Regions from separate parts of the Homo sapiens genome. Here region 2 is linked to region 1. The links are contacts of gene promoters, found by promoter capture Hi-C in blood cells and fetal thymus (Javierre and others, 2016). All regions are on one chromosome and are shown on one strand. Each heading gives the region's core, a stretch centred on a gene start or on the middle of the fragment in contact. The rest is flanking DNA. Distances are from core to core; before and after follow the strand shown. Region 1 holds the start of BCL7A (BAF chromatin remodeling complex subunit BCL7A). Region 2 holds the start of LRRC43 (leucine rich repeat containing 43).

Region 1 (4,526 bases), core at 1,618-4,117:
TTTTTTTTTTTCCTTCCTTCCTTCCTCCCTCCCTCCTTCCCTCTTTTTCTTCCTTCTTCCTTCCCTCCCTCTCTCCTTCTCCTCATCCCTCTCTCTTTTCTTCTTTCTTTCTTTCGTTCTTTCTTTTCTCTCTCTCTCTCTCTCTCTCTCTTTCTTTGCTTCATGCAGTGGCATGATCTTGGCTCACTGCAGCCTCTACGTTCTGGGCTCAAGCCATCTTCCCCACCTCAGCCTCCTGAGCAGCTGGGGCTGCAGATGCGCACAACCACACCTGGCTATTTTTTGAATTTTTTGTAGAGATGGGGTTTCACCATGTTGCCCAGGCTGGTCTCAAACTCCTGGCCTCTAGCAGTCCACCCACCTCGGCCTCCCAAAGTGCTGGAATCACAGATGTGAGCCACCGCGCCCAGCCTAGATTTCTTTTTATTATGATCAAATACACATAAAATTGACCATTGTAACCATTTAAAAGTGTACAATTCAGCGTCATTAAGTACATTCACATTGTTCTGCAACCATCACCACTATCTCATTCCAGAACTTTCCTATCACTCCGAAAGGAAACCCCACATCCGTTAGCAGTCACTCCTGCTCTCCCTCCCCCTTGCCTCTGGCAACCACCAATCTGATATCTGTCTTTATGGATTCGCCTAGTTGTAGATATCTCCCGCAAATGGACTTACGCATATTTATCCTTTTGTGACTGGCTTCTTTCACTTAGCGTGTTTCAAGGTTCACCCATGTTGTAGCATGTATTCATTCCCTTTTATGGCTGAATAATATTCCATTGTGTGGATAGACACATTTATCTGTTCCTCAGTCACTATTTGAATTCTGACATAATATTTTCCTATTTTAAATTTTAAGATACATTTTTTTAAAGTTTCATGTGGCCCAAAGCACATACCTATTGATCTCACATATCTCTGTGAGATCTGTTTTATGACCTGCTGTTGCATATTTTCCCAGAAAATTCTCGGAACGATTCTCTGAAGTCCTTCTTTCTCTTTCTCTTTTTTTTCTTTTTCTTTCTCTCTTTCTTTTTTTGTTTTGTTTTGTTTTATTTTGTTTTGTTTTGTTTTTTTGAGATTCAGTTTTGCTCTGTTGCCCAGGCTGGAGTGCAATGGCATGATCATTGCACCTCTGCCTCCCAGGTTCAAGCATTTTCCTGCCTCAGCCTCCCGCGTAGCTCAGATTACAGGCCTGCACCACCACGCCCAGCTAATTTTTGTATTTTTAGTAGAGACAGGGTTTCTCCATGTTGGCCAGGCTGGTCTCGAACTCCTGACCTCGTGATCTGCCCACTTCGGCCTCCAAAGTGCTGGGATTACAGGCATGAACCACCGCGCCCGGCCTTTTTTTTTTTTCTGAGACAGGGTCTCACTCTGTCTCCCAGGCTGGAGTGCAGTGGCTGGATCTCTGCTCACTGCAACCTCCGTCTCCCAGGTTCAAGCGAGTCTCCTGCCTCAGACTCCCGAGTAGCTGCGATTACAGGAGCCCACCACCGCGCCCGGCTAATTTTTGTATTTTTAGTAGAGACGGGGTTTCACCCACCATGTTGGCCAGGCTGGTATCGAACTCTTAACCTCAAGTGATCCACCCGCCTCGGCCTCCCAAAGTGCTGGTATTACAGGCATGAGCCACCGCGCCCGGCCAGTATTTGTTCTTTTCTTCATTTTTCACGTCAGGAGACTGCGTTTCAGAATAGTAAAAACAAATGCCTAGGAAAAGGCCTGCGGTCTCTCCATTTCCACAGTAGCGTGTTCCCCAAAGACCAAACCCTCAGGGGAAACGTCTAGAATGAGTAACAACTTAAGGCTGCAACCTTAAACTTTCCCAGGACTCAGTTTCCCCAGCTGTGAAATGGCTGCTGTCGGGCTGTCATCTCCAGGCCCGGGGCGCTGACATTTGGGCCACTCTCGGTCTCCCTCTTCATTCTGGGCGCGCATTAGCTCTGGTCCGGCCGGTTCCGCTGCAGCTGAACAGCAAGATGCGGCACCCAGGTTACCCTGATCATCGCAGATTTCTCCCCGGGGCTCTGTTCTGAGGCCTCAAAAGTGCTCCTTGTAGATGGGACCAGGGGTCATTTGGGCAGTAGCAGCGCCTGGTCTCAGTCTGGTACTGAAGTCAGGAATGGCTTAAGGTGAAATCGTGGTCCTCTGGTGAAGCTCAGCGAAGACCCCCTCGCCTTGTTTATGACAAGAGAACTTCTGGGGGCGGGAGGAAGAGTCCCTGTTACGATGCTGATCATCATTGAGCTTTTGCTGAGCAGAAAACTCTTTAGTACTCAAGGTCGAGAGTCTCTGGTGGTCTGCCTGGCACCAGGCACCTTCCTACAACCCTAGTTTTCCAAAAGGACAAAGCCTGGGGCAGGCGACGTCCTAGCTCGCATTTGAACAGGGCCGCGGGCCAGCAGAGATGCGCGATGCCCAACTCTTTCCAAGAGCACCTCGCGTCCCGAACCGGTGCCTTCAACTCGGAGAAGTCAAGAGACCCGCAAGAAACTTGCACGACTGCACCCGCCGCCGCGCTCTGGGGGCTGGGCAGGGGCAGCTGGGCTGGCTCCCGGGGAACGCGACCCCCCCGCGCCCCGCAGACCGGCTGTCTCCCATGGACCCCTCGGCACCTGCAGCCTCCGAGGAAGGGTCAGCGCGCGTGTCCGCACGCCCGCCCCCACCGCGCGCCCAGAGCCGGGGGTCGCCGTGCGCCCTTCGCCACCTCCCCAGGAGGGCGTCCGGGGCGTCCCCTCTGGGGGCGCAGGAGGCCCGGGGGCGCTGCCCGGTGGCCGCGGCGCCCGGAGGCCGCACTGCCGGCGGCGGCGGCGGCGCGGCTCCCCCTGCTCTGTGCAGCTGCCGCCCGGCGCTTGCGCACTGGGCCAGGCGCGCGGCGGCCCCGGGCTTTGTGTGTGTGTGTATGTGTGTGTGTGTGTGTGTGTGTGTGTGAGTGTGTGCGTGTGAGAGTGCGAGTGTCTGTGCGCGAGTGAGTGAGCGGCGGGCGGGCGCGAGTGTGGCCGCCGCGGAGCGCGAGCAGGACCCGGCGGGCGCGCTCCCCAGCCTCCGTCTCCCCGCCGGAACCATGTCGGGCAGGTCGGTTCGAGCCGAGACGAGGAGCCGGGCCAAAGATGATATCAAGAGGGTCATGGCGGCGATCGAGAAAGTGCGCAAATGGTAAGCGGAGGCGCCCGCCGCCAGCCGCCTCCCCGGCCGCCCCGAGCCCGAGCGCGGCTCCAGAGAGCCGCGGGGCGCAGCGCCCCGGCCGCCTGCCCCGGCCCAGCCCCGCCGCGGGCCCCGGGACTTGGCGAGGGCGGGCGGACGGGCGGGCGGCGCGCGAGCCGGGTCACCTGCGCCAGGCTGGGGCCGCGGCCGCTGCCCAGGTGCGCTCGCGCCTGTAGCCCACCTGGCGCGGCGGCCCGGAGGCGGCGGGCGCCGGGGCCAGGCGGTTGGAGCGGCGGGGCGGCCCCCGCCGCGGCGCTCGGCTCCCGGGAGGGGGGCTCGGGGCCGGCCCCAGAAGCCATTTCGTTTTGTGCAAGTCACATGAAAGCGGCTTCCCGCGCGCCGGGGCCGCGATGCCGGCGGCGGCGGGGAGAGCGCGAGCTCCATTGTGCAGGCTCCGAGCGGGCCGCCGCCGCCGTCTCCTCCCCGCGCACCCCGGCCCGCGCCCCGCCGCCCTCCGCCAGCCCCGGCCCGCCCGGCCGCCCGCTCCCGCCTCCCGGGCCCGGCGCCCTCGAGTCTGCGGAGTTTGCAGAGCGCGAGCCGTTTAAATTTAGCGCTTTGGGCTGCCTGGAGCGAGGGCTCTCGGCGACCAGGAAAGATGGGGGCGAGCGCTGGGAGCCAGCGGCCAGGGGCGCGGGGCGCCCACGTCCCACCCCGCTCTGCGCGGCGCCCCGGGCGGGGGGCTCGGGCCAGCCGATGTTTTTGGCCAGAAGCCGTTCGTCCTGGGCCGCGGCTGCCTCTCCACACCGGGAGCTCGTGTTTGTTTTGCGGAGGGAGCTGTTGTTTTTGTTCTCTGCACCGGGGAGAGGGGGACTTGGTGGCGGCCGCGCGTGGTTTTCGGGATCACATTAGCGTCCGCCCGGCGTGGCCCGGTCGACATTAAGGGGATCGAACCTTTCCGCGGCCTCGTCGGGGTCTGCTCGGAATCGGCCCCTGGGCCAGGCCCGAGGCGCAAGCAGATCGCCAGGTTGGGTCAGAGTTGTTGAAAACTCCCCGCTGCCTGATTTCAACTTTATTATTTTTTTCCCACGCCTTCACTGGGGTCCCGGAGGGAGAGGAGCCGCCGCAACGCTGGCTCTGAGTGTCAGCGCCCGCGGGCTCGTCTCGACCCTTTATTTCGAGCCTGGAAGCTGGGCAGGCCCTGTGGCAGGGGATGTTTACGTTTGGGGGTGTCGTTTCTCGAGTAGCGCCTCGGTCTCTAAAAGCCACTGGGGGCGAGCCTCCGGTGTGGCGGTGTCACAAGTTAGCTGTCCTTTCTGAGTCAAACCCAACAAAAAAGGCAAGAGGAAAATCAATAAAGTCCACGTGCTCCCC
Region 2 (4,676 bases), core at 1,193-3,692, 160 kb after region 1:
AGCCATGGTGCCTGGCCAGGGTGGTGTTTGATTGGATATGGGGATGGTGGAGAGGGAAGAGTTGAGGACAACCTCTGGGTTTCTGGTTTGAGCAACTGGATAAATGATATTGGTACAAACGAAGAGGATCACAGGCCTCAGGCCTTTGGGGCTCGGGTGAGGTGATGAATTCTGGCTCTTTGCTTGTTGGTTGGCTGGTTTGGTTTGGTTTTCTTTTCTTTAAGAGGCAAGGTCTCAGTCTGTCACCTAGGCTAGAGTGCAGTGGTGTGATCACAGCTCACTGCAGCCTCAAACTCCCAGGCTCAAGAGATCCTTCCGCCTCAGCCTCCTGAGTAGCTGGGGTTATAGGCACACGGCATACCACCAGGCCTGGCTAACTTTTTAATTTTAACTTTTTGTAGAAATAAGATCCTCCTCTATTGCCTAGGCTGGTCTTAAACTCCGGGGCTCAAGCAATCCACTCACCTTGGCCTCCCAAAGTGCTGCGACTGTAGGTGCAAGCCACGTGCCCGGCCTGATTCAGCTTTTGACACAGTGAATGGGAAGTGTTATGGATGCTCAGCTGAAGACACACAGTAGGCTGTTGGACGTGTGGATCTGAAGCGTGTAGGAAGGAACTACAGATGTAAATGTGGGTGCCATCAAGGTATTGTGGCAGATAAAACTGTAAGCCAGTAAGAGATGAGCAGTGTGAGGTGTGGAAGTCGTGTGGAGCCCTGGGACATGCTTCCATTAACAGGACAAGGAGAAGATGATGATTTAATCTAGAACATGGAGAAGGCACTCTCAAGAGAAAAAGAAGGCTGGGTGCGGTGGCTCACACCTGTAATCCCAGCACTTTGGGAGGCCGAGGCGGGCGGATCACGAGGTCAAAAGGTCGAGACCATCCTGGCCAACATGGTGAAACCCTGTCTACTAAAAATACAAAAAAATTAGCTGGGTGTGGTGGCGCGTGTCTGTAGTCCCAGCTACTCAGGAGGCTGAGGCAGGAGAATTGCTTGAACCCAGAAGGTGGAGGTTGCGGTGAGCCGAGATTGCGCCACTGAACTCCAGCCTCGTGACAGAGTGAGACTCCGTCTCAAAAAAAAAAAAAAAAAAAGAGAGAGAGAAAGAAAAGTAACACCAGAAATACATGTTGTCATGGAATAAGATGAAAAGCAGTTTTTCAAGGAGGAAATGGTTGGCATCATCAAAAGCCATGAAGAGGTCAAATAAGATAAAGGCTGAGGAGATTCACTAGATTGGGCAACATGAGGTCACAGAAACTTTGCTGGGAGAGTTTGAATAAATTTTTGGTGTGGCAGTTATATTGTGGTGGTTTGGGAAGTGAGGAAAAAGTGAGCATAGGCCAGGGGCGAGTGGCTCACACCTGTAATCCCAGCACTTTGGGAGGCCAAGGCAGGTGGATCACTTGAGGTCAGGAGTTCGAGACCAGCCTGACCAGCATGGAGAAACCCTGTCTCTACTAAAAATACAAAAACTAGCTGGGCATGGTGGCGGGAGCCTGCAATCCCAGCTACTCAGAAGGCTGAGGCAGGAGAATTGCTTGAACCCAGGAGGCGGAGGTTGCAGTGAGCCAAGATTGCGCCACTGCACTCCAGCCTGGGCAACAGAGCAAAACTCCGTCTCAAAAGAAAAGAAAAAAAGAAAAAGTGAGTATAGACCACTGTGTCAAGAAGCTTGGATGAGAAGGAAGAGAAAAGAGACAGTGTTGGCTGCAGGGGGACTTGGGATGAAGGGTGGAAGGGCTTCCTGGCTGGGCCTCTTCTGTGTATCTTGGGCTCTGTGGTCTGCCCAGACCTGACCTCATTCCTGAGCTCTTACTCCTAACCAATGGCTGATTTGACACAGTAGACGCCCATTGGCATCTGGACCTTAACTTGTTCCAAACAGGATGCTTGATTTCCCCTCTCAGTCTTCTCTTCCTTCACTGCACATTGTCCATCTGTTGCTCCATCAAAATTGCAGGAGCCATATCTGTGATTCATCTCCTTGATTTATTTATATCACTATGGACTCATAGATATTTATTTTATTCTTTGAGAGCCAGGCATGGTGGCTCACGCCTGTGATCTCAGCACTTTGGGAGGCTGAGGTGGGTGGATCACTTGAGGTCAGGAATTCGAGACCAGCCTGGGCAACATGGCGAAACCCCATCTGTACTAAAAATACAAAAAAATTAGCCAGGCATGGTGATGCATGCCTGTAGTCCCAGCCACTCAGGAGGCTGAGGTGGGAGGACCGCTTCAGTTCAGGAGGTCCAGGCTTCAGTGACCTGTGATCACGCTACTGCACAGTAGCCTGGATAACAAAGGGAGACCCTGCCTCAAAAAAAAAAAAGGATATTTTCTTCTTTGAAAGGACATATGGTTGGCTGGGCCCGGTGGCTCATGCATGTAATCCCAGCACTTTGAGAGGCTGAGGTGGGCGGATGACGAGGTCAGGAGATCGAGACCATCCTGACTAACACGGTGAAACCCCGTCTCTACTAAAAATACAAAAAATTAGCCGGGCTTGGTGGCGGGCGCCTGTAGTCCCAGCTACTCAGGAGGCTGAGGCAGGAGAATGGCGTGAACCTGGCAGGCGGAGCTTGCAGTGAGCCGAGATTGCACCACTGCACTCCAGCCTGGACGGCAGAGGGAGACTCCGTCTCAAAAAAAAAAAAAGGAAAAGAAAGGACATATGGTCATCTTTTTGCCTTAACTCCCAGTTTTGGATAAATTTTTTTTTTTTTTTGAGACAGTCTCACTCTGTTGCCCAGGCTGGAGTGCAGTGATGTGATCTCGGCTCACTGCAACCTCCGCCTCCTGGGTTCAAGCAATTCTCCTGCCTCAGCCTCCGAAGTAGCTGGGACTATAGGCATGTGTCACCACGCCTGGCTAATTTTTGTATTTTTAGTAGAGACGGGGTTTCACCATGTTGATCAGGCTGGTCTCGAACTCCTGACCTCAGGTGATCCACCCACCTCAGCCTCCCAAAGTGCTGGGTTTACAGGGGTGAGCCATCGCGCCCAGCCTAATTTTTCTAATAACAGTAAAGTTGTCCCGATATCGTATAGTCAAAAAGAATGAGAGATGTTAATGTGTTCCTCCAAAATTCATTTGTCAGAACCTGATGCCCAGTGTGATAGTATTAAAACGTGGGGCCCTTTGGGAAGTGATTAAGTTTGGGGGCTCCTCAGGAATGGGATCAATGTCCTTATAAAAGAAGCTTCATGGCTGGGCGTGGTGGCTCACGCCTGTAATCCCAACACTTTGGGAGGCTGAGGCCAGTGGATTGCCTGAGCCCAGGAGTTTGAGACCAACCTGGGCAACATGGTGAAACTCCATCTCTACTAAAATACAAAAAATTAGGCTGGGTGCGGTGGCTCACGTATGTAATCCCAGCACTTGGGGAGACCGAGGTGGGTGGATCACCTGAGGTCAGGAGTTCGAGACCAGCCTGGCCAACATGGTGAAACCCCGTCTCTACTAAAAATACACATTAGCGGGGCGTTGTGGCAGGCGGTTGTAATCCCAGCTACTCGGGAGGCTGAGGCAGGAGAATCGGTTGAATCTGGGAGGCGGAGGTTGCAGTGAGCCGAGATCGCGCCATTGCACTCCAGCCTGGACAACAAGAGTGAAACTCGGTCTCAAAAAAAAAAAAAAAAAAAAAAAAGCCGGAAGTGGTCATGCGCGCCTGTAATCCCAGCTACTCGGGAGGCTGAGGCAGGAGAATCGCTTGAACCCGGGACACGGAGATTGCGGTGAGCTGAGATCTCGCCACTGGACTCCAGCCTGGGCGACAGAGCGAGACTCTGTCTCAATAAAATAAAATAAATAAAAAATTTAAAAAATGAGGTCTGGGTGATTAAACAGTTATACAGGTGGACAGTGATAAAATCCCTGACTCCAGGGTTAGAGAGACCACCCTGGAACCCACTGGCTGGTTGGAGTCGAGATGTTTGACCTTGGGCCCTCTTCTCCTTTCTCCATCTGTCAGATGGGTATAGGATGACTTTCCGTGGGGAGTGCTTGACAGGAGCTAAGAAACAGGTCAGCTATGGCGCTTACTGCCTGCGGGAGCTGCCGCACTTAGAACCACCAGCTGTTATCCCATTTTTATAGATGAGGGCAGAAGAGAAAACGCAGGTGGTTGGGGCCAGGCTGTCTGATCCGGATGGGGGACTTTTCCCTCGGGGCAGGTGAGAGCGCCTGGAGAGGCCCCTGCCCCCGCGCACGCGTCCTAGCGGTTGCCGGGCAACGCGGCCCGGGCCATGGAGGCGTCGTACGAGTCCGAGTCCGAGTCCGAGTCTGAGGCCGGGCCTGGGACTCAGCGGCCCGGGACCGGGACCGTGAGCGCGGCCGTGCGCGAGCACTTGCGGAAGCTGTGTCTGCGCGAGTTCCCGTGCGGTGCCGGCAGCTGGGTGCGGGCGCCGGGGCCGGAACTCTGGGGGCCTGGACCGGCTGCGGGGAGGCACGGGCCCGGGCGAGCGGAGCGGGCTGGTCCCTGGGGCCTGGGATCTGCGCATTCTGGGGGCCGCCGACATGGGGGCGGGTGGGGCTTGAGGGTGACGGTGGGGCCCGAGTCGCGGGCACTGCGCGGGGAGGAGAGCGGGGCCCGTCCTGAGCACATCAGCTGACCTGGGCTGGGGCCTCTCCCTGACTTGAAGACGTCAACACCCCAGATTTCTAGTG

The links. Contacts are between HindIII fragments. The CHiCAGO score rates a contact against its expected background, and 5 or more counts as called.
Region 2: a fragment that was not itself captured here is called in contact with the fragment with the promoter of BCL7A in region 1 in 2 of 17 cell types (M1 macrophages and M0 macrophages); the score reaches 5.6 in M1 macrophages.

What each region holds. Positions count from the first base shown.
Region 1 is chr12:122,019,017-122,023,542 of GRCh38, forward strand. It overlaps BCL7A (BAF chromatin remodeling complex subunit BCL7A), which reads left to right and starts at 2,868. Exons shown (of 6, transcript NM_001024808.3): 1 at 2,868-3,167. The coding sequence starts at 3,076. RefSeq lists silencers at 2,747-2,826, 2,957-3,276, 3,427-3,586 and an enhancer at 3,421-4,236. The HindIII fragment of the contact is 6,381 bases long and covers 1-4,526 here.
Region 2 is chr12:122,178,890-122,183,565 of GRCh38, forward strand. LRRC43 (leucine rich repeat containing 43) reads left to right here and starts at 4,234. Exons shown (of 12, transcript NM_001098519.2): 1 at 4,234-4,405. The coding sequence starts at 4,256. RefSeq lists a silencer at 4,262-4,361. The HindIII fragment of the contact is 1,531 bases long and covers 1,678-3,208 here.